7 separate regions of the Homo sapiens genome follow, and all the other regions are linked to region 6. Evidence: promoter capture Hi-C in 16 types of primary human blood cells and fetal thymus (Javierre and others, 2016). All regions are on one chromosome and are shown on one strand. Each heading gives the region's core, a stretch centred on a gene start or on the middle of the fragment in contact. The rest is flanking DNA. Distances are from core to core; before and after follow the strand shown. Region 1 holds the start of TRIM47 (tripartite motif containing 47). Region 2 overlaps FBF1 (Fas binding factor 1). Region 3 has its middle 7.5 kb from the start of EVPL. Region 4 holds the start of ST6GALNAC1 (ST6 N-acetylgalactosaminide alpha-2,6-sialyltransferase 1). Region 5 holds the start of TRIM65 (tripartite motif containing 65). Region 6 holds the start of QRICH2 (glutamine rich 2). Region 7 overlaps ACOX1 (acyl-CoA oxidase 1).

Region 1 (3,887 bases), core at 1,388-3,887, 430 kb after region 6:
GTCACCGAGGCTGGAGAGTACAGTGGCACAACCTCTGCCTCCTTGGTTCAAGCGATTCTCCTGCCTCAGACTCCCGAGTAGCTGGGAATACAAGTGTGTGCACCACCACGCCCGGCTAATTTTTTTGTATTTTTAGTAGAGATGGGGTTTCGCCATGTTAACCAGGCTGGTCTGGAACTCGTGACCTCAAGTGATCCGCCCGCCTCAGCCTCCCAAAGTCCTGGGATTCCAGGCGTGAGCCACCACACCCGGCACATTTGTGCTCTTTTGCTTGTGTTTTCTCCTCTTTAGCTCTGAACTCATGAAGTGCCTTCTGAACATTTCTAGTCTGGTCTCAGGGGACCTGAGGGTATTTTCCCACCCCCCAAGCCTAGAGAGCTGGGGAAACAGAGGCAGGAATGCAGACCCGGTGGGAGAGGTGGACAAGGGTTTGGGTGTGGGACAAGCAGCAGTGTGTGCTGAGGTTTAGGGAAGGGCCAGGGTCCTGGAACACAGAGAGGGCCAGGAACACCGGGGGACATGCATGACCTCTAGCACATTTGGGCCTGGGCCTCTCTCCAACATTTCCTTACTTATGCACTGTTATAGGTTGAATCCTGTTCCCTGAAAAAGACGTATTCGGATCCTAACCCCCAGGACCTGTGGCTGTGACCTTATTTGGAAATAGAGTATTTTCAGATGTGACTGAGTTAAGATGAGGGCATACTGGAGTAGAGCGTGCCCTAATCCAACAACTGGTGTCCTGATAAGAGGAAATGGGCACCGGGCACAGTGGCTCACGCCTGTAATCCTAGCACTTTGGGAGGCTGAGGCAGGCAGATTACTCGAGCCCAGCAGTTTGAGTGGGCAACAGAGCAAGACTCCCTAAAAAAAAAAAAAAAAAGGACATTTGAACACAGACACAGAGAAAAGGCAAATGACAACAGAGACTGATATTAGAGCGCATCTTACAGCTACAAGCCAAGGAACGCCAAGAATTGCCAGCCAGTACCAGAAGCTGGGACAGACGCCCAGGACAGAGTCTCCCTCAGATCCTGCAGAAGGAAGCCACGCTGCAGCACCTTACTGAAACACAGCATTTCTTTCTATTCCAAATGGAGAGAATACACCAGAGTGGTATGAGCAGTTACCTGTGACTTTGTCACTAACCAAAATTACAGATATCTCTGGGTGCGGTGGCTCATGTCTGTAATCCCAGCACTTTGGGAGGCCGAGGCGGGTGGATCACCTGAAGTCAGCAGTTCGAGACCAGCTTGGCCAACATGGTGAAACCCCGTCTCTACTAAAAATACAAAAATTAGCCAAATGTGGTGGCGGGCGCCTGTAATCCCAGCTACTCAAGAGTCCGAGGAGGGAGAATCGCTTGAACCCAGGAGACAGAGGTTGCAGTGAGCTGAGATTGCGCCACTGCACTCCAGCCTGGGCGACAAGAGCGAAACTCCATCTAAAAAAATAAAAATAAAAAAACATTATTTGGAATTTTCAATGCGAAATATGTCTGTTCTCCCCAGCTTGTTAATTTATTATTTATTTATATCGGCATGGACTCATAGATGTTTATTTTACACTTTGGGTTATAATCAGTGCTACTTTACTTATTTTGTTGTCATTCTGGTGTAGTGTTTTAACTTAACATTATTGAGATATAACTCATACAATAAAACGCACCACTTTAAGTGCATAATTAGATGAGCTTTAAATACTTCCAGTTGGGGAACCCCCAACCCCACCACAGGTGTCCCCAGTGTCCAGGGGCCAGAACTACATTCCTCAGACAAGGGACTTAGGGAATGACGTCAACTTCCCATTTCAGGTCTAGAAAAGTCCAAGTTCCCTACTTGGGGTAAAGAGTCGCTAAAGGAGCTGGGCGCTGTGGCTCACGCCTGTAATCCCAGCACTTTGGGAGGCCGAGGCAGGTGGATCACCTGAGGTCACGAGTTCAAGACCAGCCTGGACAAGGTGAAACTCCGTCTCTACAAAAAAATACAAAAATTTGCCTGGTGTGGTGGCAAGCGCCTATAATTCCAGCTACTTGGGAGGCTAAGGCAGGAGAATCACTTGAATCCGGGAGGCGGAGGTTGCAGTGAGCCGAGATAGCGCCCCTGCACTCCAGCCTGGGCGACAAGAGAGGAACTCTGTCTCAAAAAAAAAAAAAAAAAGAGTCGCTAAGGGGCAAAAACATATGTACATCAGCAGTTATTTTTCTCTGCAGTCAGCAGCTCAGGAACTTTGCTAAGGGTGCCAGGGAGGGGTCGAGCGCAAAGGTGCAGGCATGACACAGCTAGACGCGCCCAGCCCCTGCGGAGCGCTGGCCTGGCCCAGAAGGACCAGAGGGATGGAGGCTGAGTCCTTCCCATTCCTTCCACTGTACCTCTCGCGTTCTCCGCCCGCGCTCACTCAGTTTCACACCCTTTCAGCAGCGCCCTTCCTTAGGACCACGCGGACTCCCCTGGGGGTCGCGCGGGCTCGGAGGCCTCCCTGCGTTGTCTGGGCGGGGACTGGGAGTCCGCGGGCCCGCAGGCGGGCGGTGCTGCGGGGCGGGCCGAGCTGGGGGCGGGCGGGGGCCGGAGCCCTGGCCTAGGTCCCAGGGGGAGGTGCCGCGGCGCGAACGGCCCGGGTCCCTCCCAGGCCGGAGCACAATCGGCGGCGCCCTGGGCGGCCGCGGAGTCATGGACGGCAGTGGACCCTTCAGCTGCCCCATCTGCCTAGAGCCACTCCGGGAGCCGGTGACGCTGCCCTGCGGCCACAACTTCTGTCTCGCCTGCCTGGGCGCGCTCTGGCCGCATCGTGGCGCGAGTGGAGCCGGCGGACCCGGAGGCGCGGCCCGCTGCCCGCTGTGCCAGGAGCCCTTCCCCGACGGCCTTCAGCTCCGCAAGAACCACACGCTGTCCGAGCTGCTGCAGCTCCGCCAGGGCTCGGGCCCCGGGTCCGGCCCCGGCCCGGCCCCTGCCCTGGCCCCGGAGCCCTCGGCACCCAGCGCGCTGCCCAGTGTCCCGGAGCCGTCGGCCCCCTGCGCTCCCGAGCCGTGGCCCGCGGGCGAAGAGCCAGTGCGCTGCGACGCGTGCCCCGAGGGCGCGGCCCTGCCCGCCGCGCTGTCCTGCCTCTCCTGCCTCGCCTCCTTTTGCCCCGCGCACCTGGGCCCGCACGAGCGCAGCCCCGCCCTCCGCGGACACCGCCTGGTGCCGCCGCTGCGCCGGCTAGAGGAGAGCCTGTGCCCGCGCCACCTACGGCCGCTCGAGCGCTACTGCCGCGCGGAGCGCGTGTGTCTGTGCGAGGCCTGCGCCGCACAGGAGCACCGCGGCCACGAGCTGGTGCCGCTGGAGCAGGAGCGCGCGCTTCAGGAGGTGGGCTCCGGGGGCACACTCGGGTGAGCCGGGGCTGGTGACCGACCGCGCGCGAGCGGGCCGAGGACCTTGGACCCCCCAGTCTTCCCGGGTTGGGTCTTAATCTCCTCCTCTAACCTGAGGATCTTTGCGGTCCCTTCCAGCCTTGACAAGGTCATCTGCTGGCGGTGATGGAGATGGGAAGGGAGGAAGGAGGGACGTGAGAACAGGACAAGGACGCGAAGAGCGGGCAGGGGACCTGAAGCCGGGCCGGGGTCTATGGGGGTGTAGGCGGGAGGGAGCCGGGTTAGGCCCGCGGGGTTCCGGTAGCGTGGCTGCTGCTCCCGCCCGGAGGGTCACGCCGGTCTCAGCTCAGATTTGCCCTGGGCTGAGGCAGCAGCTTTCGATGGGTGTGGCAGGCGGCAGGAGGGCGGCAGAGGGCGACCGGGCACACAGATTCTCTGTCCAGCTGTTCCGGGGGCCAGTGGTGGGAGCATGTGAGCCGCGGCCTCTACCTCCCGCCCCCAGTTTCCTTTGGCCTCCAGCCCGGTCTTGGCGCCTCTG
Region 2 (4,170 bases), core at 1,658-4,157, 390 kb after region 6:
GATCATGCCACTGAACTCCAGCCTGGGCGACAGAGTGAGAGACTCTGGGTGACAGAGCAAAACTCCATCTCCAAAAAAAGAAAAGCTGAATAATGGGAGGAATGCCCATCTTAGTGCGTGTAGCATTGAGGCACCATGACAGATAAGACAGAGGAGCTGGGGAAACTGAGGCAGTGCCCGGCGGAGGAGAGGCCTGGGAGCAAGGGCTGCACGGAAACACACCCTTCCACAAGGAGTTACCGCATCAGGGTGATCCAGCTCAGAGTGACCGCCTTCCCCTCCCGCCTCCCCTCAGGGCGTCCATCCTAGACATGCGCAGAGACCACGAGGAGCAGCTGCAGCGGCTAAAGCTGCTGAAGGACCGAGAGGTCGATGCGGCCACCAGTGCCACCTCCCACACGCGGTATGTGCGCTGCCCCAACCATGCCCGCCTGACGTTGGGGGCCGGAAGGTCCCCGAGACCGTCAGGAGGGGGTGACCCAGTCTTCTTCCAGGTCCCTGAATAGCATCATCCACCAGATGGAGAAGTTCTCCAGCAGCCTGCACGAGTTGTCCTCCCGCGTGGAGGCCTCGCACCTCACCACCTCCCAGGAGCGGGAGCTGGGGATCCGGCAGCGTGACGAGCAGCTGCGGGGTACGCCCTCCCCTCTCAGCCACCCCGGCTCCTGGTGGGAAGGGGGAGCAGCTGCTGAGCACCCTGTGGGTTGCCCCCAGCACTGCAGGAGCGGCTGGGCCAGCAGCAGCGGGACATGGAGGAGGAGCGGAGCCGGCAACAGGAGGTCATCGGGAAGATGGAGGCACGGCTGAATGAGCAGAGCCGGCTGCTGGAGCAGGTGAGGCCCGTCCTCCTGGCCCTCCTGCCCCTCCTGCCACGGGGCCTCTTCTCCAGGGCACCCGCAAGTGTAGCGGCACTCCCGTGACCTCACTTCCTCAGGAGGTCAAGGCCCCACCTGCCGCTTCCTGCCTCTACATCTCCCTGCCCTGGCCAGGCTCTCAGCACTGCCCACCTGAGCATGCAGGGGCCGCCTGGCCAGGCCCCCCACCACGCCCTGTCCGCTCCTCAGCACCGCAAGCCCCTCGGCCACCTTGGCTGCCCTCCGCAGTCTAGCCCCCGCAACCATCAGCTGCACTTCCCACTTCCTGACACTCGAATCTGTCACATTAGCTGAGGCCTGACATTGGGACAGATGCTCTTGCCCATTAAATGTCATCCTAGCCTCTTCAGCTCTCACAGAGACATTTGAATTCCCTAGATACCTTTCATATATAAGCACATGCTTTATTTAAATAATGATGACCTTAGCCAGGCACAGTGGCCTGTGCCTATAATCCCAGCTACTTGGGGGGCTGAGGCAGCAGGATCACTTAAGGCCCAGAATTTGAGACCAGCCTAGCGAGACCATAAATAAATTTTTTTATGCCAGGCAAGTTGGCTCATGCCTGTAATTCCAGCACTTCAGGAGTCCAAGGCTGGAGGATCACTTGAGGTCAGGAGTTCGAGACCAGCCTGGCCAACATGGTGAAACTAAAAATAAAGAAATAAGAAACTAGCCAGGCGTGGTGGCGCACGCCTGTAATCCCAGCTACTAGAGAGGCTGAGGTGGGAGAATCGCTTGAATCTAGGACACAGAGGCTGCAGTGAGTGGAGATCATAACATGGCACACCAGTCTGGTTAACAGAGCGAGACTCTGTCTCAAAAAAATAAATAATAAAAACATTTAAATTTTGTTTTAATTAACTGGGTGTGGTGGTGCACACCTGCAGTCCCTGCCTTTGCTCACATCCTTTTCCTTACCTGTGGAAATCTTTCTAGGCTGAATTCAATGGTAATGAATCTTTCGATGCTACCACCTCCACAAAGCCTTCCTTGTCCTCCCACCTATCTTTTTGTCCTCAGCTAGTAGTTATCATCTTCTAAGGTTTTACAAAGCACTGTTATTTTTTAGAGACAGGGTCTTGCTCTGTTGCCCAGGCTGGAGTGCAGTGGTGTGATCATAGCTCACTGCAGCCTGACCTCCTTGGCTTAAGCCATCCTCCTGCCTCAGCTTCCTGAGTAGCTGGGACTACAGGCGCAAACCACCACACCCAGCTAATTGTGTATTTTTTACTGAGATGTGGGTCTTGCCATGTTGCCCAGGCTGGTCTTGAACTCCTGGGCTCAAGCAATCTGCCCACTTAGGCCTCCCAACATTTTGAGAGTACAGGTGGGAGCCACCATGCCTGGCCAAAAAAAAAAATTTTTTTTAGAGATGGGGTCTCACTGTCACTCAGGCTGGAGTGCAGTGGCAAGATCTCAGCCCACTGCAGCTTGAACCTCCTGGGCTCAAGCAATCTTCCCACCTCAGCTGCCAAGTAGCTGGGATCACAGGTGCATGCCACTATACCCAGCTAATTTTTTGTATTTTTTGTAGAAACGGGGGTTTGCCATGTTGCCCAGGCTGATCTCAAACTCCTGAGCTCAGACAAGCTGCCCACTTTGGCCTCCCAAAGTGCAGGGATTACAGGCGTGAGCCACCATGCCCAGCCAAAAACTTTTTTTTTTTTTTTTTTTTTTTTGAGTCAGAGTCTCGCTCTGTCACCCAGGCTGTAGTGTAGTGGCGCAATCTCAGCTCACTGCAAACTTCGCCTCCTGGGTTCAAGGGATTCTCCTGCCTCAGCCTCCTGAGCTACTGGGATTACAGGCAACTGCCACCACGCCCAGCTAATTTTTGTATTTTTAGTAGAGATGGGTTTCACCACGTTGGCCAGGCTGGTCTTGAACTCCTGACCTCAGGTGATCCACCCGTCTCAGCCTCCCAAAGTGCTGGGATTATAGGGCTGAGCCACTGTGCCCGGCCCAAAAAAATGTTTTTAAAGAAGAAAATAAAAATATCCCACTAGTCAGAGATGTCCACTGCTGACCTGATATCTATCCTGTAGCCATGTCAACGTAGATAGAGATGCTTTTATGTTGTGAAGCATTTTGATTCGCCTCTTCATTTGGTAACTGTGTTAAGCATCTGCCTGGGGTCAGGCACAGTGAAGCTCTCGCCTTGTGCTGTGTGTGGCTGGGCCCACAGCACAGCATTAAGCCACCCTGTGCTTAGCCTGCTTGGCTGATGGGTGAGGACAGGCAGAGTGCGTAGCTGGCGATTCAGCGGCAGGGATGTTGCTGCTCTTTGGCCCTCCCAAGCTGCTAGCCTTGGTGCTGTTGGAGACCTGAGGGTTGGGAGGGCACCTGCTGGGTCCTTCTCTTGGGCAGAATCGTGCGGGCTGGGCCCTGGCAGTGCCTCCCAGGCACCCCTCATTTTGTGCCTCTTTGGGAAGGACGTGTCAGTGGCATAGTGTGGGAGACACTGGTGGGTTCATGCAGCTTCTCAGGGAGTGGCCAGGCGTGATCCTCAGGGCGGGAACCACGCTCTCAGTCCTGCCCTGGGCCCTACAGGAACGCTGGCGGGTGACTGCCGAGCAGTCCAAGGCGGAGTCCATGCAGCGCGCCCTAGAGGAGCAAAGGAAGGTCACGGCCCAGCAGATGGCCATGGAAAGGGCGGAGCTGGAACGGGCCAAGGTGAGTCAAGCCACCGCACTCAGCCCCTGCCCCTGCCATTATGCCCAGGGACACTCACCCCGTGCCTTCACCCCCACATCCCAGAGCGCCTTGCTGGAGGAGCAGAAGTCTGTCATGCTCAAGTGCGGGGAGGAGCGGCGGCGCCTGGCTGCCGAGTGGGCGGAGTTCTCCGCGCAGCAAAAGCTGAGTAAGGAGCGGGCCGAGCGCGAGGCCGAGCGGGCATTGCAGGTGGACACCCAGCGGGAGGGCACCCTCATCAGCCTGGCCAAGGTAGGGCCCAGAGCCTCCGGACAGTGGAGGGCCCAGGGTTGCCTGCGCCCCTCCATCTGGACACATCCGCTTCCAGTCTTAGGAAAGGAGAGTGTAGCACTAATGTCACAAGAGCATAGGGATTAAAACAGTAATCGCATCATCATGCTAACATCTTCCTCGTATTGTCCCAGGTGCATTATACACATTTTATTTGATCCTCATGTTCCCATGACTTTGGTCATTTAGAAATGAGGAAACCGAACTTCAGAGTTGAGCCTGCCACAGTCACGTGGCTTGTGAGGGCAGCACTCCGGCTTGGCCCCAGGCTTCTCTGGCTCTCCCTGGAAGCCCCTGGCTCCACCACCTCCTC
Region 3 (3,978 bases), core at 1,184-3,683, 270 kb after region 6:
CGGCGAGCTTGCACATCCCTTCACATGGGATTCCTGGACATTAAGCAGGCTGTGTCGTGGGGGACAGAGCGCCAGATGCAGGACCCCCTCCTGTCCTCAGGCCCTGGGAAGTGGCTCTGCCTCTGATGGGAGCAGGTTTCAAGTCAGGCCCTCACTGCCCCTGGGCCCTGCAGGCTGTTCGCTGGGGGTTTTCACAAAAAGACACTTCGGAGGCCACACAGTCCTGCCTTCCCACGGGGCAGGACATGCAGATGAGGCCCCGGGGGCCGCGAATGGGTCTGTTCCAAGTGGGTGTTCCCGTGTTGTGCTGGCTCCAGTCCCTCCTCCAGGATGGACTCTGGTGCTGTCAGCAAGCTCTGACCCTGGAGGAGGCTTCTGTCTCCAACATCAAGAGAGGACGAAGAGAGCTCCATTCAGTCCCCTTATACTTTTATTTATTTATTTATTTAGAGACAGTCTCACTCTTGTCACCCAGGCTGGAGTGCAGTGGCACGATCTCAGCTCACTGCAGCCTCCGCCTCCCAGGTTCAAGCGATTCTCCTGCCTCAATCTCCCAAGTAGCTGGGACTACAGGTGCGTGCCATCATGCCCAGCTAATATTTGTATTTTTAGTAGAGGCGGAGTTTCACCGTGTTGGGCAGGCTGGTCTCGAACTCCTGGCCTCAAGTGATCCACCTGCCTCGACCTCCCAAAGTGCTGGGATTACAGGCATGAGTCACCACGCCTGGCCCGGTCTCATACTTTTAAAGCCTGCCCTAGGTCTGCTGTGGATGTGGTCGTGGTCGTGGTTTCTGTCCTTTTTTTTTTTTTTTTTTTTTTTTTTTGAGATGGAGTCTCGCTCTGTCGCCTAGGCTGGAGTGCAGTGGTGTAATCTCGGCTCACTCCACCTCCCAGGTTCAAGCAATTCTCCTGCCTCAGCCTCCCGAGTAGCTGGGATTACAGGTGGCCACCACCACGCCCAGCTAATTTTTGTATTTTTAGTAGAGATGGGGATTTCACCATTTTGGCCAGGTTGGTCTCAAACTCCTGACCTCATGATCTACCCGCCTCAGCCTCCCAAAGTGCTGGGATTACAGGCATGAGCCACCGCACCTGGGCTTTTCTTTTTTTGAGATGGAGTCTGACACTGTCGCCCGGGCTGGAGAGCAGTGGTGTGATCTTGGCTGACTGCAACCTCCGCCTCCCATTCAAGCGATTCTCCTGCCTCAGCCTTCCGAGTAGCTGGGATTACAGACATGCGCCACCACGCCTAGCTAATTTTTTGTATTTTTAGTAGAGATGGGGTTTTACTCTATTGGCCAGGTTGGTCTCAAATGCCTGACCTCGTGATCCACCCGCCTCAGCCTCCCAAGGTGCTGGGATTACAGGCGTCAGCCACCACGCCTGGCCTATGTGATCATAGTTTCTATTCTCTGTTCCAGGCAAGCCCCACCAGGCCTGCTGGGTGAGGGTCAGGAGCACGAGGTGGCTGAGGATGGCACTGGCCTTTGCTGCTGGGTCTCCTGGCCTGTTCCTCTCTTCCCGAATGTTGTTTGGATTTGCTGTCTCCTCTCTGGTTTTACATTAAATCAGTGAGAACTCTTGGATTCCCTCTTTGAAATGAAACGGTGCTGGGCTTGGTTCCGACCCCTTCCCCTGGTGGCAACCTGAGCCTGTCACCACAAGCACAAGGTGACAGCCTGTGATGACAGGCCATCCTCAACCCATAGCGGCTCTGGGCCAGAGCCAGGACTTTCCTCCCAAAAGCTGAGGCAGAGGCTTCACCCCCTCTAGGAGAGGAAGGCCAACGCCAGGGGCTTTGAGGGTGGGACTGTGCTCTGTTCACTGTCATCGCTGTGGCAGCGCTAATTTTTCACATACGAGGTGTCGTTAGTCACACACAAAAAAGCCAACTGATCACAGAATTCTAAACAGCACAATTCTGTCTGCAGCCTTGAAAAGCCTGGGACATTTAGAGGTCTAGGAAAATATCCAAAGATAGCAAAAATATGTGTTGGTTCTAATTTTTTGTTTGAAGACAGTTGTTGCTACAGAGGAGATGGAAAGCAGATTTAGCTGTAAAATTTATCGATGTTCCAAAGCAAAGAGAATAAATTGGAAATTGCCTGCATCCTGACAACACCAACTGGAAGAATCCAACCTGTTATTCTGTTAGATGTTAGAGACACTTGGGAGGAGGACCTGGGAGGGGCTGTGGCTGGGGGCACCGCCCAGGGCCAGCTGGGGTGGCAGGCTGTGCGGGTTGCACACAGTAGATAGGCCCTGGCCTCTGGGTCCACCCTCTGCTCTGAGCACCATCTGGCACAGAGTGAGGGGCTCTACAAGCATCCAGTAGAAGTATTATTATTATTATTATTCCAAGATGAGGTTTCACTCTTGTTGCCCACACTGGAGTGCAATGGCACGATCTCAGCTTACTGCAACCTCTGCCTCCCGGGTTCAAGTGATTCTCCTGCCTCAGCCTCCTGAGTAGCTGGGATTACAGGCATGTGCCACCATGCTCAGCTAATTTTTGTATTTTTAGTAGAGACGAGGTTTCACCAAGTTGGATAGGCTGGTCTCGAACTCCTGACCTCAGGTGATCCGCAGCTTCGGCCCCCCAAAGTGCTTCCCCAGGGATCTTCTGACCTAGCAATCCAGCTATGACGGGCAGGTACCTGGGCCAGTGAAAGCTGAGTAACGTTAGCTGCGGCTCATCTGTGGAATGGAGACAGACGTGGCTGTGCAAAGGCCTCACCAGGCAGTGCCTCCCATGCTGCCTAAGAAGAGGTGTGAGGCAGAGAGAGCAGGTGCCCAGGGTCCTCCGAGCTCCTGGATCCCTGCCCCACACTGACTAGTCCATTGCCTCTGAGCACACTCCAGCTCCTGTACAACAGGGGCGGCTGCGTCTCAAAGTTGCTGGGAGGAGACAGTGAGGAGGTTCCCCCAAAATGTTCTGAGCCCAGACCCCAAGACAGTGTGGGCTGCTGTACCCTGAGTCGATGGGTACACATAGCTGAGAGAGCCTTCCACTCAGCCAGCCTGCGTCCTTGTCTTCCCCTTCCCAGGAAGTCCTCCTAAGTCTATGCAATGCCATTCAGACAATAGTTTGGGTCTGACTAGCTGCTGTCTGTGCTGGGTGGTTTAACCTCCCCTTTCCAGCTTCCTGACAATAGAGACAAATCAGGCAGCTATGAGAACTTCTTGTTCCTTCGTTTTCATGTTTGTCTGTTTTATAAACCTTTTTCTCCCTCTGAACAGTGAACAGTGCCAGATGCCACCAGACCCCTGCTGCTGTGGTGCAGCCGGTGGGACATTTTCTCAAGCGGCAACGCAGGTCATTATCTTGGCATGGACAGTTAGCTGGCTGCCTCCGTCACATCCGCACTTCTCCAAAATAGGGCTGCAGGTCCCCGGACCTAGCTAGTAAGGACAGCTATTATCTTAAAGGTGGCAGAGAGGCCCAGAGCCCTTGGGCCTACCAGTTCCTGAGTAAGACTGGCTGGGCTGCAGACTTCTGGAATGCAGGGATGGCTCATGCACGAGATGGCTGCAGGGGCTGGGGAGTGGGCTGCACCAGCATCAGTCCTACAGCTGAACTGGGGCTGGTGCTGTGGGTCCCCTTTCTCCCAGGGAAAGGGGATGGTTCAGAGGGAGGGACAGATACCCTAAGGCAGCCTTGGTTTTGAGGATTCCAGGGGTTCCCTCTATGTTCTCTTTCTTGCCATTTAGTATGAGGAATCCTGCCTGCTCTCTTAACACACACAAGATTTGGTTGTTTTCTGTTTTTTGGAGTTTTGGTAGTTGCTTCCTCTAAACCTTCCCCGTAAAAGTCCCAAAAGGAATCACTAGCACCTGTTCCTCCCCACTCTTGTCTGGTTAGGCAAGCTGTACCACCTTTTGCTTCTCTCTAGGCTGACCTTGGCATTTCAGTTCTTTTTATCGGACTTGCCAGGCAGACTCACAGCCAAAAGAGCCTCCTCCTGGTGGCCCTGCAGA
Region 4 (4,011 bases), core at 1,403-3,902, 340 kb before region 6:
TTTTAACAACTCTTATCTGCATGTAAGTTCTCACATGTCCCATCAGCTGATGTATACTAAAGTTCAAAGACTCAAGCTCAAAGCTTTAGTTTAAAAAGGAGAAAAAGTTTTTGCCATTGAGCTTAAGAGAATAAAATAAAATAAAACAATAAAAAGGAGAGAAAGGTAGATCTTACCAAACACAAAATTGTGACGATGTTTAAAAAATAATTGGCAGCTGGGCGTGGCGGCTCACATGAAGTGCTCCCAGCACTTTGGGAGGCTGAAGTGGGGTCGCTTGAGACCAGGAGATCAAGACCAGACTGCACGACATAGCAAGACCCCCCCATCTCTACAAAAAAAATTTGCCAGGTGTGGTGGCACCCACCTGTAATCCCAGCTACTTTGGAGGGAGGCTGCCGCAGGAGGATCTTGTGAGCTCAGGAATTCAAGGCTTCAGTGAACTATGATTGCACCACTGCACTCCAGCCTGGATGACAGAAAGAGGCCTTGTCTCAAAAAGCAAAAACAAAATAATTGGAAAGTCAATTTCTCCTAAAACACACACTTCTCTGGATCCCACATTCTGCCCAGGCACATGCTACAGCAGCAGTGGGCTGGAACCTGAGAACCAGGAAACTAGGACTCTGGATTATCCTGCCACACCAGTTGGCCACAAGGTCTTCAAGTTCAACCTGCCTCTAATGTGGCGAGAGGGACAGATTGTCCACAGTAGCTCAGCTTGCACCCAGGAGCTCAGCTGGATCTCCATGCCCTGCGGAAGGCAGCGAGCACTGACAGCCAGTGCCTTCTTCAGAACACAGGGCACGATGAAAGAGATACTCTATTTAGTCACACTAGTACTGTGGGTAAGAACATGCCTTTTCACTGTGCACTTATTTGCATAGCGTTGCAAGCAGGCACCAGGATACAGGAATATAATTGTACATGTCAAGTGCATAAAGGAACTCAGGATAAGGGGCCAGTTAGGACAAAGAGTTATGACTTGATACAGATCAATTCAGAAAATGTTTATAGAGTTAACATATGAGCATCTGTAGGTTAGGCACGGTGAGAGAGAAAGAGAGAGGTTGAGTCAGTACTAACAGAGATGTTTCTCCTTGCCACCATGACTTGAAACAGTGCTGTGAGTTGCAGTGTACAGTAGGGGATAAAGGAAACCATCAGTCGTCTGTATTACCCTCAGCTGCTCAGACGTATGTTCCTGCCTTTTTCGTCCTCCTTGAGGAAGGTGGTTTAATCATTTATCGGTGCGTGCCATGGGTGAAGGCCAAGAGCCTTGTGTACAGAACTGAAAACTGTACGTTAGGAGAAATGCCCACCGCCAGGTGTGAACAGTGAGCCCAGGCTCCAAAACCTCTCCCACAGTTCAACACCCTGGACAATATTTTTATAAAATTACTAACTCACAGTACTTTATGGAGGGCTGCTTCTCTGAATTTTTAAAGTTTTCTACAAATGGTCTTGATGTTTTTCCTCTGAGGTGTACTTTTTTTTCCCAAGAATTATGTGGGTTTTGTTTTGCATTGCTTTGATCAAGGTAGAGTTAATGATTTCTCGTAGGTGCTACTAAGCAGTGGATACGAATGCAATCGGCCAGGCACGGTGGCTCACACCTGTAATCCTAGCACTTTGGGAGGCCGAGGCAGGTGGATCATGAGGTCAGAAGATCGAGACCATCCTGGCCAGCATGGTGAAACCCCGTCTCCACTAAAAATACAAAAATTAGCCGGGTGTGGTGTTGGGTGCCTGTAGTCCCAGCTACTCAGGAGGCTGAGGCAGGAGAATCACTTGAGCCCGGGAGGCGGAGGTTGCAGTGAGCCAAGATTGCGCCACTGCACTCCAGGCTGGCAACGAGTGAGAATGTCTCAAAAAAAAAAAAGAAAGAAAAATGCAATCATGGCTGGGCATGGTGGCCGATGCCTGTAATCCCAGCACTTTGGGAGGCTGAGGTGGGAGGATCACTTAAGTCCAGGAGTTTGAGACCAGCCTGGGCAACATACTGAGACCCATCTCTATTTCTTAAAAAAAGAATGCAATCTCTAGGTCAGTTGGATCTGGACCCCAAGCCAGTGGCTCACCATGTGCTCTTGGGCTGGCAGCTTGTTCTTGGAGGCCATTTCCTCCTCTGTCAAATGGAGGTGATGACAGTACCCAGCCCCTAGAGTGGCTGTGAGGGTTCCATGAGTGCCTGTGAAGACTCCCCACTGCCCAGCTCAGAGTGAGCCCTCATACGTGCTGGTCATTGTTGTAATGGTCATGATTTCAGAAGAGAAACAGAGAAGGTTGAGCTAAAGTGTTGAACATGTGTGTTGGGTGCCTACCACAAACAAAGCCCTGTGCATGGTGGCCTCAAGGTGTCTTCATGATAATCCCAAAAGGAAGATAACTGCTTTTTTCCATTTATATGGCGGCAGATGGGTTAAGTAACCTGACCAAGATGAGACTGCATATAATGTGGTTATATTTCTCATAAAGCTTGACTTTCAGATATTGGCTTCAAAGACAAAAAAGGAAGGTAAACATGTTTGAACACAAGGAGTTTCCCTTCCTTTAAGCCACGCCAGCTTATAAGCCTTCATACAGCAGTGAAGGCGGTTCCTCCCTTCCCAGGCAGAGACTGATAAACTCAGCACTTGCCGGAGTGGCTCATTGTTAAGACAAAGGGTGTGCACTTCCTGGCCAGGAAACCTGAGCGGTGAGACTCCCAGCTGCCTACATCAAGGCCCCAGGACATGCAGAACCTTCCTCTAGAACCCGACCCACCACCATGAGGTCCTGCCTGTGGAGATGCAGGCACCTGAGCCAAGGCGTCCAGTGGTCCTTGCTTCTGGCTGTCCTGGTCTTCTTTCTCTTCGCCTTGCCCTCTTTTATTAAGGAGCCTCAAACAAAGCCTTCCAGGTAAGATTCTTGTCCTTTCCACTCCTCATATTTCATTCATTTGAGGAAACAGAAAAATGATAGCCCAGGGAGGACTGGGGAAGTCTGAGCCACCTGTGTGTCCACATGGGAGTGTCAGGGGTCAGGAGTGTTCTCAAGAAGCACTGGGAAGAAAGACTAATGGGAAGACTTGCAGGGAACAGAAAGGGTGGCAGTGGGCAACCAAGACGCATGGGATGGACATGTCCAGATACTGTGGGACACGTACAGGAGTTTGAGAACTGATGGGTTAGGTCTGCAGAGTGCAGACAGAAGACATGACTGCTTTCCCCTCTGGGACTGTGAGTAATGGCAGCAGCACTGGGTTAGTTCTTACATGCCATTCTCTACGTCCTGAAGCGAAAGAGCCATGCTGTGTGTTCCACTTGTTTCAGACCCGGACTCACCCTAAGTTTGTCAGTTAAAATGGAGAGCCTCCCTCTTAGGGATGCAGTTTCAATTGTGGACGCCAAGTTAATCCTTCAAAAATACCTTCTAGACCATTTTTCTTAGAAAATACACACATCTCCAGCAGTGAGAGGCCCTCTTTTTTTTTTTTTTTTTTTTGAGACGGAGTCTCACTCTGCTGCCGGAGTGCTGGAGTGCAGTGGCATGATCTCAGCTCACTGCAACCTCCACCTCCCAGGTTCAAGCCTCAGCTTCCTGAGTAGCTGGGACTACAGGCGCATGCCACCAGGCCTGGCTAAGTTTTTGTATTTTTAGTAGAGACAGGTTTTCACCATGTTGGCCAGGCTGGTCTTGAACTCCCGACCTCAAGTGATCTACCCACCTCGGCCTCCCAAAGCGCTGGGATGACAGGCGTGAGCCACTGCGCCCAGCCAATAATTTCATTTCACTGTTCCTAAACGTTGAAAGTAATGCAGGTTCTCATAGAGTTAAAAAAAATACAGAAAGGTGAAGCAGGAAGTGAGGGTCTCCCTATTATACCTCCACCTCTATCCACTCTTCAAGGTGACCACTCTTGACACTTGAGGGTACACGGAATTCTATTATTATGTAGCTAACACTGCTATAGTATTTACTATGAGCTAGCCCCTATTCTAAGTGCTTGATATACGTTAACTCACTAAT
Region 5 (4,058 bases), core at 259-2,758, 410 kb after region 6:
GGGTGGGAAACGGGCTGCCTCCCACCCCACTAAGTGCGTCCTCACCTCCGTCTTCTGAGGGTGTCAGGGGCCCTGGGATCCGAAGCAAAAGCAGGCAGTGGGCCAAAAACAGGTGTGGCCCAGGGAAGGGAGACATCCCAATCCAGCAGGTTCCTGAAACCCAGCTCCCCGAAAAAGTGGAGCAGAGCAGCTGGGCTCAGGAAGGAGCATTTATTGAGCACTGGCTCTGTGCCTCAGGGGGGTCCCACCGGCCCCTGGAGAGAGAGTGCCTGCCCGAGCACTGACCCTCTGCACAGGCTCCAGCCCCCACCCCATGCTTGGGAGGAGAAGCCACATTAGGTAGGCAACAGCGTGTCTCAAGAGACCTGCTCAGGGTCAGAAAACCCATGGAGTCTTGCGGCTGGATGGTTAGGTGTTTTGTTTCTCCCTTACCAAAAGCAGAAGTCTGGCTAACTAGTAGGTGGAGGGTAGATCCGTGCACTTTGTCCAGAAAGAAACTTCGTCTATGGCCGCACAGAGGACGCAGTGCTTGCTGCAGCAGTGAGAGCTCGTGCCGCCTCAACATCAGCCCAGCTTGGTTAGAAAGGCCGTACTCTCCTGGGGTTCCCCCTGGCCTGATACACACTGTCAGGTAGGTGGGCGCTAGGCCCCAGACCCGCCTTGCCTGCTCAGCTTCAGGGGAAATGCTGGAGTGCCTGTAAATACTGAGGCTGCAGATCAGCTTGGACCCCAGGCAAGGAACTCTCCCCAGCGGAGGGCAGCAGGAAGAGGGGATGCTGATTGCAGATGAAAGCTGGTTTGTGTATTCATTCAGGGCCATTTGAAAAATACCAGTTAACTGGTCCCTGTCTCTTGGTGACCAGACATTTCCATCTCGCTGTTTACTTTAAAAGAACCAAAATTACGTGTAGCCCAGAGAAGGGAGACACCCCAGTCTGGCAAGTGTCCGAAACCCAGCTCCAGGAAAAAGTGCAGCAGTGCTCGGGTCTGCAGGGAGCCCGCCAGCCCGTTTCATCGCCAAGCCCCGGGGGATTGTTGGGGGTGGGGGTCTATGCTGTTAGGCGACTGGCAGATGAGTCCAGAAGAGGTTCCGCGCGGCCCGTGGTCAGAAGCCCGGAGTCCTGGCGGGGTTTTCGAGCCTCTGGTCTCCAGGACCTGGGCTGAAGGCCCAGGGGGGTGGGATGGACCCGCCAGGCTGGGACCCTAGAGAGCCGAACTCAGCTCTCAGCCGGGGTGGCGTGGACCCTAACGGAGGGAGGGGCGCAAGGCGGGAACGCGGAACCTTCGAGCGGGCCAGGCCGAGGTGGGCAGGGGTGGCCTAGGCCCCTGCGGCGGTCGCTCGTCGAGGGTGTCAGAGAAGGGCCTGCCGCCCCCCTCCGCCTTCCCGGGCGCGGATCTCGCCCCGCCCCGCCCGGATCTCGCCCCGCCCCGCGTTAGCCACGCCCAGGCGCCCTCAGCGCGCGAGGCCCGCGGTCCCTTTAAGACGCCCGGGGCCCGCCTGGCTCTCGCCGCCGCCGGGCCATGGCCGCGCAGCTGCTGGAGGAGAAGCTGACCTGCGCCATCTGCCTGGGGCTCTACCAGGACCCAGTGACGCTGCCCTGCGGCCACAACTTCTGCGGGGCCTGCATCCGGGACTGGTGGGACCGCTGCGGAAAGGCGTGCCCCGAGTGCCGGGAGCCCTTTCCCGACGGCGCCGAGCTGCGCCGCAACGTGGCCCTCAGCGGCGTGCTGGAGGTGGTGCGCGCCGGGCCCGCCCGGGATCCCGGCCCCGATCCCGGCCCCGGCCCCGACCCTGCCGCGCGCTGCCCCCGCCACGGGCGGCCGCTGGAGCTCTTCTGCCGGACCGAGGGCCGCTGTGTGTGCAGCGTGTGCACCGTGCGCGAGTGTCGCCTCCACGAGCGGGCGCTGCTGGATGCCGAGCGCCTCAAGCGCGAGGTGACGCATCCGCCGGGAGCGGGAGGGGTCCGGACCCGCCGCAGCCTGGCCACCGCCGGGTGACTCCTGCGGGCCGCGCCCTGCTCTCTCGGGCACCCGGCGGGGGCGGGGAGCCTCATCTGTAAGGGGCTTCTCCCAACCTGGGAGCTGATTATAAAAGTCGTGGGTCTGCCAGGCGCAGTGGCTCACGACTGTAATCCCAGCACTTTGGGAGGCCGAGGCGGGCGGATCACGAGGTCAGGAGATCGAGACCATCCTGGCTAACACGGTGAAACCCGGTCTCTACTAAAAATACAAAAAGTTAGCCGGGCGTGGTGGCGGGCGCCTGTAGTCCCATCTACTCGGGAGGCTGAGGCAGGAGAATGGCGTGAACCCGGGAAGTGGAGCTTGCAGTAAGCCGAGATCGTGCCACTGCACTCCAGTCTGGGCGACAGAGCGAGACTCCGTCTCAGAAAATAAACAAACAAAAAATCGTGGGTCTGTGCATCAGACTGGGATATGCAGCCCGGCCAGTGACACAGGGTGGGTCTCAGAAGCTGCTCGGTGCCCTCTGGATGAACAAAGCCTGGGCGTGAGGCAGCAGCTCCCTGCTCCGTGCCCAAGCGCTAGAGAACCGTCGTGTGTCTCCTGCGCTCCGAGAGCCTCCTTTCATTCGCTGTGCGGGGTTGTGGAGGGCGAGGGGGCTATGGGGGCTGTTGGTAAATGGATCAGACGAGCTCCCTGCCCTTAAGAGACTTAGAATCCACTTAAGAAGTCAGTGTTCCAGTAAGGCGTGAATGTATTATTACAAAATGCAGTGAGGAAAGCACATGGCATGTGATAGAGGGGTTGGGGTGACCCTGCTAAACGGGCCAGGAGGAGGAAGGGGAGGCCGCCTTCAGGCTGGCATGTGAGGATTGAGGAAGCGCAAGCCAGGAGAAAGACCTGGGGAAGAGCATTCTAGGCAGAGGAATCAGCCTGGTCCCGTCTCTGGGATGGGAAAGAACTGGGCACGCGGGGTCCCTAGTGGCAGATTTGTGCCACTGAGATCTGTGGGCCAGGCCCTGGGGGTCAGCAGGGGCAGGATCGGGCAGGGTCCTGGGGGAGTCTGGCTCTTACTGTAGGGTCATGGGGGCCATTATAGGCTTGGAAGCAGGTTGGCACATGATCAGATTTGGGCTTCATGGAGACTGATCACCTGGCTGGGGGCTGAAGGGGGCAGGATGTAAGACCCGAATCGGGTAGGAGTGCAGGGAGGCAAAGAACCAGCTGGGGATCAGGGAAGGGAGACCAAGATGGAGGAGGAGATGAGAAACGCTGAGGGGAAGTGGTACCTTGTGGAGGCGAAAGCAGGCCAGAGGGGACACGGGGGACAGCAGAGAGGGCGGCAAGGGAGACACCTGGGTTTCTGTCTTGAGCACGCAGGTGGCTGGGGTGCTATGTCCTGAGAGGCGTAGGTGGAGGGCAGAGTTTGGCCTTGGACATATAGAGGTCACAGTGGCCAGTGGGACAAACCAGGGGACGGGCCTGTGGCACCTGGGACCCTGGCCCCAGCCCTGCCGCGCGCTGACCCCGCCCCGGGCAGCTGCTGGAGCTCTTCTGCCAGACCAAGGGCTGTTGTGTTTGCAGCTTGTGCACCATGAGTGAGGGTCACCTCCTCAAGTGGGTGCTGCCGCCAGGAGCAGGAGGGGGCCGGACCCCCCGCAGCCTGGCCACCACCGGGTGCAGTGGCTCACGCCTGTAATCCCAGCACTTTGGGAGGCGGAGGCCGGTGGATCACGAGGTCAGGAGATTGAGACCATCCTGGCTAACATGGTGAAACCCTGTCTCTACTAAAAATACAAAAAATTAGCCAGGCCTGGTGGCGGGCGCCTGTAGTCCCAGCTCCTCTGGTGGCTGAGGCTGGAGAATGGCGTGAACCCGGGAGGCGGAGCTTGCTGTGAGCTCCAAAGCTCAGGAGCGGGGAGCTGGAAGTCGAGAGCTGGGAATCATTAGCGCTAGGAGGAAGAGAAGGTTCCAAGCTGGAGCTCCCAGGGAGATGGGGAAGGTCGGGGGAATGGCAGCCCTGTGTGGCACCTGGAGACAGGGGTGCCAGGAAGAGAACGGGCAGGATGCCCATGCTGATCAGAGGCTCAGTACGAGGA
Region 6 (4,093 bases), core at 192-2,691:
TGACTTGTAATACCTACTGCAATATCCTGTGTAGATGGTGGTCATGCTGTATTATTTAGAGAATCATGACAGGAATCTGTACGTGTTCAGTCGTGGTTGGTTAAATCTGCAGATGCAGAGCTCACGGAGGAGGCTGGCCATGCATGGCACACATTCATAGGTTCTCTTTAAGTAGCCTTGCTGTGCTTCTGTTAGGAAGTTTTATTTATACGTTTTTGGGAAGAATCTTGTATGGGGAAGTCATGTCTCAATTGTTAACACCAGATTTGTCTCGTGCTGTTTAATCCTGCTTTGTAATGAGCTCAAGCACAGGCGCTTGACCAGGTGAGTGGTTTCTTTTCTTTTCTTTTTTTTTTTTTTTGAGACAGAGTCTTGCACTGTCGCCCAGGCTGGGGTGCAGTGGTGCGATCTTGGCTCACTGCAACCTCTGCCTCCCGGGTTGACGCGATTCTCCTGCCTCAGCCTCCCGAGTAGCTGGGATTACAGATGCGCGGTACCATGCCCGGCTAATTTTTTGTATTTTTAGCAGAGGGGTTTCACTATGTTGGCTAGGCTGGCCTTGAACCCCTTACCTCAGGTGATCCACCCGCCTCGGCCTCCCAAAGTGCTGGGATTACAGGTGTGAGCCACCAAGCCTGGCCGTTTTTTTGAGATCAATTAATTTATGGCAGGCTGGGCGCGGTGGCTTACACCTGTAATCCCAGCACTTTGGGAGGCCGAGGTGGGTCGATCACTTGAGGTCGGGAGTTCAAGACCAGCCTGGCCAACATAGTGAAACCCCGTCTCTGCTAAAAATACAAAAAATTAGCCGGGCATGGTACCACGCATCTGTAATCCCAGCTACTCGGGAGGCTGAGGCAGGAGAATCATGTCAACCCGGGAGGCAGAGGTTGCAGTGAGCCGAGATCGTGCCATTGCACTACAGCCTGGGCGACAGAGCAAGACTCCCTCTCAAAAGTAAAAAAAAAATTATGGCAGCACAGAAAAGGGACAATTAGCCACCAGTTAGTCATCTAGTGGCTAATTGGAACTGCCTGAATAGTGAGTGGGTTGTCTTTTCCAAGTTGCTTCACCTTTGATTGAACAAAATATGTGGACTGTCTGAGGGGACCAGGGCCCCAGGACTGCATCCCTTAGACATGGGGCCATAGACATGGGGCCACCACTCTGGAATGGACGCAGCTGATGACACAAAGCATGGTTGCCAGGAAACCCTCAAGTCTTTCCTTATGTGGCCCCGCCAAGAGTGAGTGAATCCTGGCCTTTCTAGGTTAAGGGGATGGATGGAGTCTAGCTGGATCTTAGGAGGCCTCCTCAGCCCGTTGCCAAGGCTCCCCTTGTGATCCTTGTGGTGGCCTTTACTTCCCCCCGCCCCCGTGGCTCGCAGGGAGGCGTGTTGTTACGTGGAATCTTCAGGGCACGCGGGGGCCCCCACGTTTCAAACGTCCGCCGGCGCGGGGACTGGGAGTCCAGGGCTCCAGCTCGGGGACCCGAGGCCAGCGACAGACAGCGGAGGGGTGGCCATCGCGGACCCCGCCGGGGAGCGGAGGCGCAGATTCCCTGGAGGCAGGAGCTCTGTCCAGTGACTCGGCCGGACCCGGGGCAGGGGCGCCCCGAGGACCTCGCAGGGCCCCCGAAAGGCCCCAAGGCGCGGCGTGCAGTGAGCGGGAAGTGGTTGGCCGGCGCCCCGCGGCGGCGCACAGCTCCTGACAGCCACGATGCCGCCCGCGACCACGGTCTCCCTCCGGGAGCTGGCGGACCTCTCCATCGGCACGCCAGAGGTGGGCGCCGTCAACTTCACGGCCCTGCACACGCTCATCGTGGCCATGCTCAAGAACCTCGACCTCCAAAATACCCGGATCGACTTCCAGCCCTCGTCGCCCGAGCCCAGCCGCTCGCTGCAGTCCGTCCGGAGCTCGTTCAGCATCCCGCACCTGCCCGCGCCCAAGGAGGTGCCCAAGGGGGCGCCCCGGGAGAAGCGCAGGGGCGTGGGCCAGGCGCCTTCGTCAGCGCTGGAGAGCCAAGTGAAGGACCTGGGCGGCCAGGTGGAGGACCTGAGCAAGCAGCTCAAGCGTGTGGACGGCCAGGTGCAGGGCATCGCCACGCACGTGCAGCACTTCTCCCAGGCCAGCGGGCTTGACCTGGCCGCGCTAGAGTGGCCGGAGGAGCAGGAGGTGGGCGTGCGGGCGTTCGATAGGGTGCGGACTGGGAGTATCATGAAGGACGCCGCCGAGGAGCTCAGCTTTGCCAGGGTGAGCACGCACACGGAGGCACGCGCAGGCCGTCTGCCTCCTCCAGGCCGCCCTCCAGGCCTAGCCGAGTCCCCACCACCCTGGAGGGGTGAGCGGTGGTGGGGACGGAGGGGATGGGGACCGAGGAGGTGCCAGACCTCAGTGCGACTGGCTAAATAGAGTGGCCCATGCTCTACCTTGCAGTCCACGGGGCTGCAAGACGTGAAAATCCTAAAAGAACGCCACCAAAAGGCCTAGGGCCTCCCCGAGCTGGAGGGGCCTGGGGACCCCACCTCCTAAGTGTAGTGGCCCCATCCCACCCCCTCCTTCCTAGCCCCTGTTTACGGGAGAGGTTCGCCCACCACTTATCAGACATCCAAGGACCCAGAGCTGGCTCAGAGTGGGGCCGGCAACTTCTCAGAAGATTCTTAGAGTGAATTCCCTTTTTAAAATGAATAAGGACATGAAGAGATACGTGTTGAGGACAAAGGCTCCCAGAGAAGGGGAGTCAGGATGGAGAGTTGGACCTCAGCTTCCTATGGCCATGACACAAGCCACAGCAGGCAGGGGACCGTTTCACTTGGACTTTTTTTTTTTTTGAGAAGGAGTCTCACTCTATCACCCAGGCTGAAATGCAGTGGTGCAGTCTCGGCTCACTGCAACTTCCGCCTCCCAGACTCAAGCGATTCTCCTGCCTCAGCCTCCCGAGTAGCTGGGATTATAGGCGCGCGCCACCCCGCCTGGCTAATATTTGTGTTTTTAGTAGAGAAGGAGTTTCACCATGTTGGCGGGGCTGGTCTCAAACTCCTGACCTCAAGTGATCTGCCCGCCTCGGCCTCCCAAAGTGCTGGGCATTACAGGCGTGAGCCACTGAGCCCTGCCTTCAACTGGACTTTTGTTTTCTTGGAGGGACAAATGCATGTAATCATTGAGTATAAGTATTGTCCAGTGAACAGCAGGAAGCAACGCAGGTCAGCGCCAGGAGGTAATAGACACGTGCATGTCTCAGAGCCACCTTAGGTTGGTTCTGAAAGAAAAAGCAGAAGCAACTAGGAAGGCAGCTGGGTGGGGAGGCCAAGAGGAGAGACAGGAGGGGAAAAAGAGGCCGGGAAGAGGCAGGAAGAAGAGGCCAAGCCCCAGCAGGGGAGCCCTGGCCGCTCATGCCCTCCTGCCATATCACCCCAGGTCTCGAGACCGCAGCACCAACTCACTTTTGCTCTGGGAAGCATGTCTGCTTTCCTTTTCAAACTTTAAAGTGTGGTGGGGGTTTTTTTTGTTTTAATTTTTTTGGGTTTTTTTTTTTTTTTTTTTTTTTTTGAGACACATTCTCACTCTGTCACCCAGGCTGGAGTGCAGTGGTGCATTGTCGGCTCACTGCAACTCCATCTCCTGGGTTCAAGGAATTCTCCTGCCTCGGCTTCCCGAGTAGCTAGGATTATAGGTGCACACCACCATGCCCAGCTAACTTTTGTACTTTTAGTAGAGATGGGGTTTTGCCGTGTTGGCCAGGCTGGTCTCGAACTCCTGACCTAAAGTGATCCTCCTGCCTCGGCTTCCCAAAGTGTTGGGATTACAGGCAAGAGCCACTGCGCCTGGCCTTTTGTTTTAATTTTTACGTAATCTTAGATTCTAGAAGTTTGCAAAAGTTATAAAAAGTAACTTGTTTTATTTTTGTTTATTAATATATTTTTTCTTAATCCCAAATATGATAGCACCTTATGTTGTAGCGATTTGCTTTGGTTCTTTTGAGGTGCTTTTCTCTTTAGATAGCACAGATGTTCAGCTACTGTTGAGGTACCTGGCACCCTTCCTTCCTTGTAAGGCAAGGTGGGCCTCATCCTACAGGCTTTCACAAGTGGGTT
Region 7 (4,100 bases), core at 1,384-3,883, 360 kb after region 6:
CCTGGTGAAACCCTGTCTCTACTAAAAATACAAAAATTAGCCAGGTGCAGTGGCACATGCCTGTAATCCCAGCTACTAGGGAGGCTGAGGCACGAGAATCATTTGAACCCTGGAGGCAGAGGTTGCAGTGAGCCAAGATGAAACCACTGCATTCCAGCCTGGGTGACAGAGCAATACTCTGTCTCAAAAAAAAAAAAAAAGAAAAAGAAAAATAGCCAGGCACAGTGGCTCATGCCTGTAATCCCAACACTTTGGCCAAGGCGGGCAGATCACCTGAGGTCGGGAGTTCGAGACCAGCCTGACCAACATGGAGAAACCCCATCTCTACTAAAAATACAAAATTAGCCAGGTGTGCTGGCGCATGCCTGTAATTCCAGCTATTTGGGAGGCCAAGGGAGGAGAATTGCTTGAACCTGGGAGGCGGAGATTGCGGTGAGCCAAGATCACACCATTGTACTCCAGCCTGGGCAACAAGAGTGAAACTCAGTCTCAAAAAAAAAAAAAGAAAAAAATAATTGTCATCCGCTTTATAGCTGTATATGCATATAATTATGTCTATCTATATACATATATATGTTTTATTTACTTATTTTGGTCTCTTTTAGGGGAGCATCATGACAGAGCCTCAGATTACACAAGTAAACCAGCGTGTAAAGGAGTTACTCACTCTGATTCGCTCAGATGCTGTTGCTTTGGTTGATGCATTTGATTTTCAGGATGTGACACTTGGCTCTGTGCTTGGCCGCTATGATGGGAATGTGTATGAAAACTTGTTTGAGTGGGCTAAGAACTCCCCACTGAACAAAGCAGAGGTAAAAATCCAGTGTCTCTGCACCTTTTTAAAAGTCTTCACTTAAATATTGAAGCAGGAAAGGCCTCTCGAAGGGGATTTATCTGTGAAAGCTCTGAAAGTACCATGGCCACTTCTGACAGTCACTTTATTTGAGCAACAGGTTCAGAAGGGAACTGGGTTGTTCCCACAGTAACCAGGGTCTTAATCAATTTCAATTTTTGATAACGAATTGAACATTTAAAAATATATACAGGCCGGGTGCGTTGGCTCACACCTGTAATCCCAGCACTGTGGGAGGCCGAGTGGGCAGATCACCTGAGGTCAGGAGTTCGAGACTAGCCTGGCTAAAATGGCGAAACCCAATCTCTACTAAAAATACAAAAAAAGCAGCCAGGCAGTAATGGTGCACGGCTGTAGTCCCAGCTACTCGGGAATTCTCCTGCCTCAGCTTGAACCCAGGAGAACCCAGGAGGCGGAGGTTGCAGTGAGCCACGTTCGTGCCATTGCACTCCAGCCTGGGTGACAAGAGCAAAACTCTGTCTCAAAAAAAAAAAAAAAGTATACACACACACACACACACACAAATAGAATAAAATATACAAAAAGAGAATTCCGTAGTGCTCTTTGGTACACCCTTTGTCTAGCAGCAATGACTATCAACTCGTGGCTAGTTGTGTTTCATCTGAACCTTCATCCCCCTCCTCCTGGGGACTATTTTGAAATAAATCTAAGACATCAGGGCCAGGCTCAGTGATGCACACCTGGGAGGCCGAGGCAGGTGGATCACCTGAGGTCGGGAGTTTGAGACCAGCCTGACCAACATGGAGAAACCTTGTTTCTACTAAAAATACAAAATTAGCCAGGCGTGGTGGCGCATGCCTGTAATCCCAGCTACTTGGGAGGCTGAGACAGGAGAATTGCTTGAGCCTGGGAGGCGGAGGTTGCGGTGAGCCGAGACCATGCCATTGCACTCCAGCCTGGGCAACAAGAGCGAGGCTCCGTTTCAAAAAAAAAAAAAAAACTAAGACATCAGATAATTTTATCCATAAATAATTCAATGCATAGCTCTAAAAGATAAGGACTCTTCAGAAACAACCACAGGCTGGGCACAGTGGCTCACGCCTGTAATCCTAGCACTTTGGGAGGCTGAGGTGGGTGGATCACTTGAATTGAGGAGTTCTAGACCAGCCTGGCCAACATGGTAAACCCCCATCTCTACAAAAAAATACAAATAGCAGCCAGGTGTCATGGCACACACCTGTAGTTCTAGCAACTCGGGAGGCTAAGGTGGGAAGATCGCTGGAGTCTGGGAGGCAGAGGCTGTAGTGAGCCAAGATTGTGCCACTGCACTCCAGCCTGAGCAACAGAGCAGGACTCAGTCTCAAAAAAAAAACAAAAACAAAAACAAAAAACAGTATACTATTTAACATGGCAAACTCTTTATTAGTAGTTCTTCTCTCTCCTTTCCCCACAGGTCCACGAATCTTACAAGCACCTGAAGTCACTGCAGTCCAAGCTCTGAAGTGTCACAAGGACAAGTTTAATCTGCTTCAGAAAGCGCCTGTGTGCAACTCAAATTTTGTGGAATCTTTTTCGAATTCAAATAGCTATAGAGCAAATGATAAATTGACCCCTTTTTATAAATGGAGGGAAAAAATGAACAGATTTCAGAGATTAAATGAAAAAAAGCAGATGTTTTAAGTGCAATTAACACTGAAAGAGACCTGTTAAACCATTCAGAAAAAGCTTAAGAAATGCGATATGACTTCCTTTTGTAATGCTGCTGATCCCAGTAGACTATGACTTTTGATAATTAGCAGAATTTAACTACTGAGTAGTTGATTATTTTCACATTTTAATTGCTAATCACTGGCTATATAAGTGTTTTTAAGCAAAGGTATTTTTGAAGTGGTGTAGAACCCTTCCAAGCTTTCCTGCTCAGTGTTCTACCAGACTTACCCTGGGGCCTGGCTTAAAAGCAGGATTGAAGAAAAGGGACTGGGGGAAGGAAACTTATTGGAAAACTTGATGCGAATGAGTTTCTGCTTGGCACAGTCTCTGCCTGCTTGCTCTCCTTTGCTGATGGATTGCATTTATCAAACTATTCATGCTAGCATTTTTCCAACGAGGGAACTTATTCCGCACGGGCCTACTGTAGGACCATTGTCTCGTGTAATTAGGAATTTTCCATTTGAAGGATTGCTAAATTGTCACAGTAGTAGGAAGTATAGGGAAACCTCTCAGCTGTGGCACTGTTGTAGCTTTGGAGTGCAGAGTGTAACTCTGGGACAATCAGATTTCACATATTCTGTCATCTTGGCATAAGCCATTAAAAGCTTGGAGATTACTGTATTTGGCATTAAAAAAAAATGTCACTTAGGTCAGCACTCCCAGACGTAGCACAGAAAAACCCTTTGACACAAACCATGTGTTCTGATTTTTGGTTCAGAAAATATTGAAACTGTGAGTTGTTTTTTTTTTAACAACTGGGAAAAAACAAAAACAAAAAACTATAGTTAGAAAAATGGAAGTTCCATAGGTTCTATTTCTTACTCTATGTATGGCTTTGTTTTCAGTCTATTTCTAGGAGCTTTCTCTGAATCGCTAATTGTCCTTTCAGTTGAAATCTAATTTATACAATCATTCTATACTTAAAGGTTAAATACATCTTAATTAATTTTTTCTTAAAGTCAATGTAAGTCACTTTGTTTTGTTTTTTTTTAATCTACGCCATATGCCTCATGAAACCAGCTGTTCTAGAATCAGTCCTGAGAATATGGCTTAATTCCATGGAAACATAACTCCTATCTTGGGACCTGACATAATATCTATCTATCCTGGGGAACTGGTAATATGAGACTTATAGGTTACAGCAGAAATGCTACATGTTGACAAAAGCCTTAATCGTTCCACTGGGAGAACTAATTGATAATTGTGTTAAGATTGAAGATTAACCCTGTGTTAATCTCACTTGAGTCTATCCTGACAGTAGTTCAGATTCTGGAAAATGATAAACTGACCTGCTAGATGTAGAATTGTTTCAAAATTAGTGTTGAAATACCTTGTTCACAGATGAATATCTGGGCAGGATCTGAGGGTGTTTGGAATGACACCCCCCAATCCAGTTGCATAGATGGGATGTCTTTGCAGGTTTGAGGAGATCATCGACCTGCAGAGCCCCCTTTGACCCAGTACCTCACGTTTTATTTAAAATCTAAATCTGGGGCCAGGCGTGGTGGCTCACGCCTGTAATCCAAGCACTTTGGGAGGCCGAAGCGGGTGGATCACCTGAGGTCAGGAGTTTGAG

What was found. The method cuts DNA at HindIII sites, captures the fragments that hold promoters and counts their contacts. A CHiCAGO score of 5 or more calls a contact.
Region 1: a contact is called between the fragment with the promoter of TRIM47 here and the fragment with the promoter of QRICH2 in region 6, in 9 of 17 cell types (non-activated CD4 T cells, activated CD4 T cells, total CD4 T cells and 6 more). The highest score is 9.9, in non-activated CD4 T cells.
Region 2: a contact is called between a fragment that was not itself captured here and the fragment with the promoter of QRICH2 in region 6, in 5 of 17 cell types (M1 macrophages, activated CD4 T cells, non-activated CD4 T cells and 2 more). The highest score is 6.8, in M1 macrophages.
Region 3: a contact is called between a fragment that was not itself captured here and the fragment with the promoter of QRICH2 in region 6, in 9 of 17 cell types (activated CD4 T cells, M2 macrophages, naive CD4 T cells and 6 more). The highest score is 10.8, in activated CD4 T cells.
Region 4: a contact is called between the fragment with the promoter of ST6GALNAC1 here and the fragment with the promoter of QRICH2 in region 6, in 4 of 17 cell types (naive B cells, total B cells, megakaryocytes and 1 more). The highest score is 8.4, in naive B cells.
Region 5: a contact is called between the fragment with the promoter of TRIM65 here and the fragment with the promoter of QRICH2 in region 6, in 1 of 17 cell types (naive CD8 T cells). The highest score is 5.1, in naive CD8 T cells.
Region 7: a fragment that was not itself captured here is called in contact with the fragment with the promoter of QRICH2 in region 6 in 4 of 17 cell types (M1 macrophages, M0 macrophages, non-activated CD4 T cells and 1 more); the score reaches 7.0 in M1 macrophages.

Annotation. Positions count from the first base shown.
Region 1 is chr17:75,877,331-75,881,217 of GRCh38, reverse strand. TRIM47 (tripartite motif containing 47) reads left to right here and starts at 2,637. Exons shown (of 6, transcript NM_033452.3): 1 at 2,637-3,344. The coding sequence starts at 2,670. It also overlaps a transcript of TRIM65 not described here. RefSeq lists silencers at 2,453-2,802, 2,933-3,312, 3,323-3,502 and enhancers at 2,347-3,262, 3,263-3,887. The HindIII fragment of the contact is 18,500 bases long and covers 1-3,887 here.
Region 2 is chr17:75,914,395-75,918,564 of GRCh38, reverse strand. FBF1 (Fas binding factor 1) reads left to right here. Exons shown (of 30, transcript NM_001319193.2): 21 at 296-403; 22 at 495-634; 23 at 715-833; 24 at 3,426-3,548; 25 at 3,633-3,818. Among named protein-coding and RNA genes, the nearest start is that of MRPL38, 12 kb to the right of the region's middle. RefSeq lists an enhancer at 3,343-3,637. The HindIII fragment of the contact is 9,083 bases long and covers 1-4,170 here.
Region 3 is chr17:76,032,862-76,036,839 of GRCh38, reverse strand. No RefSeq gene overlaps it. Among named protein-coding and RNA genes, the nearest start is that of EVPL, 7.5 kb to the right of the region's middle. RefSeq lists a silencer at 1-132 and an enhancer at 2,238-2,845. The HindIII fragment of the contact is 7,176 bases long and covers 1-3,978 here.
Region 4 is chr17:76,642,398-76,646,408 of GRCh38, reverse strand. It overlaps ST6GALNAC1 (ST6 N-acetylgalactosaminide alpha-2,6-sialyltransferase 1), which reads left to right and starts at 2,652. Exons shown (of 9, transcript NM_018414.5): 1 at 2,652-2,901. The coding sequence starts at 2,771. The HindIII fragment of the contact is 3,284 bases long and covers 2,481-4,011 here.
Region 5 is chr17:75,894,401-75,898,458 of GRCh38, reverse strand. It overlaps TRIM65 (tripartite motif containing 65), which reads left to right and starts at 1,508. Exons shown (of 6, transcript NM_173547.4): 1 at 1,508-1,935. The coding sequence starts at 1,522. RefSeq lists enhancers at 374-1,081, 1,082-1,791 and silencers at 1,159-1,638, 1,669-2,238. The HindIII fragment of the contact is 5,525 bases long and covers 1-4,058 here.
Region 6 is chr17:76,305,624-76,309,716 of GRCh38, reverse strand. It overlaps QRICH2 (glutamine rich 2), which reads left to right and starts at 1,441. Exons shown (of 19, transcript NM_001388453.1): 1 at 1,441-2,252. The coding sequence starts at 1,719. It overlaps PRPSAP1 (phosphoribosyl pyrophosphate synthetase associated protein 1), which reads left to right. Exons shown (of 10, transcript NM_002766.3): 10 at 1-239. The HindIII fragment of the contact is 8,448 bases long and covers 1-4,093 here.
Region 7 is chr17:75,944,963-75,949,062 of GRCh38, reverse strand. It overlaps ACOX1 (acyl-CoA oxidase 1), which reads left to right. Exons shown (of 14, transcript NM_004035.7): 13 at 606-812; 14 at 2,268-4,100. The coding sequence ends at 2,315. Among named protein-coding and RNA genes, the nearest start is that of FBF1, 6.0 kb to the right of the region's middle. The HindIII fragment of the contact is 183 bases long and covers 2,542-2,724 here.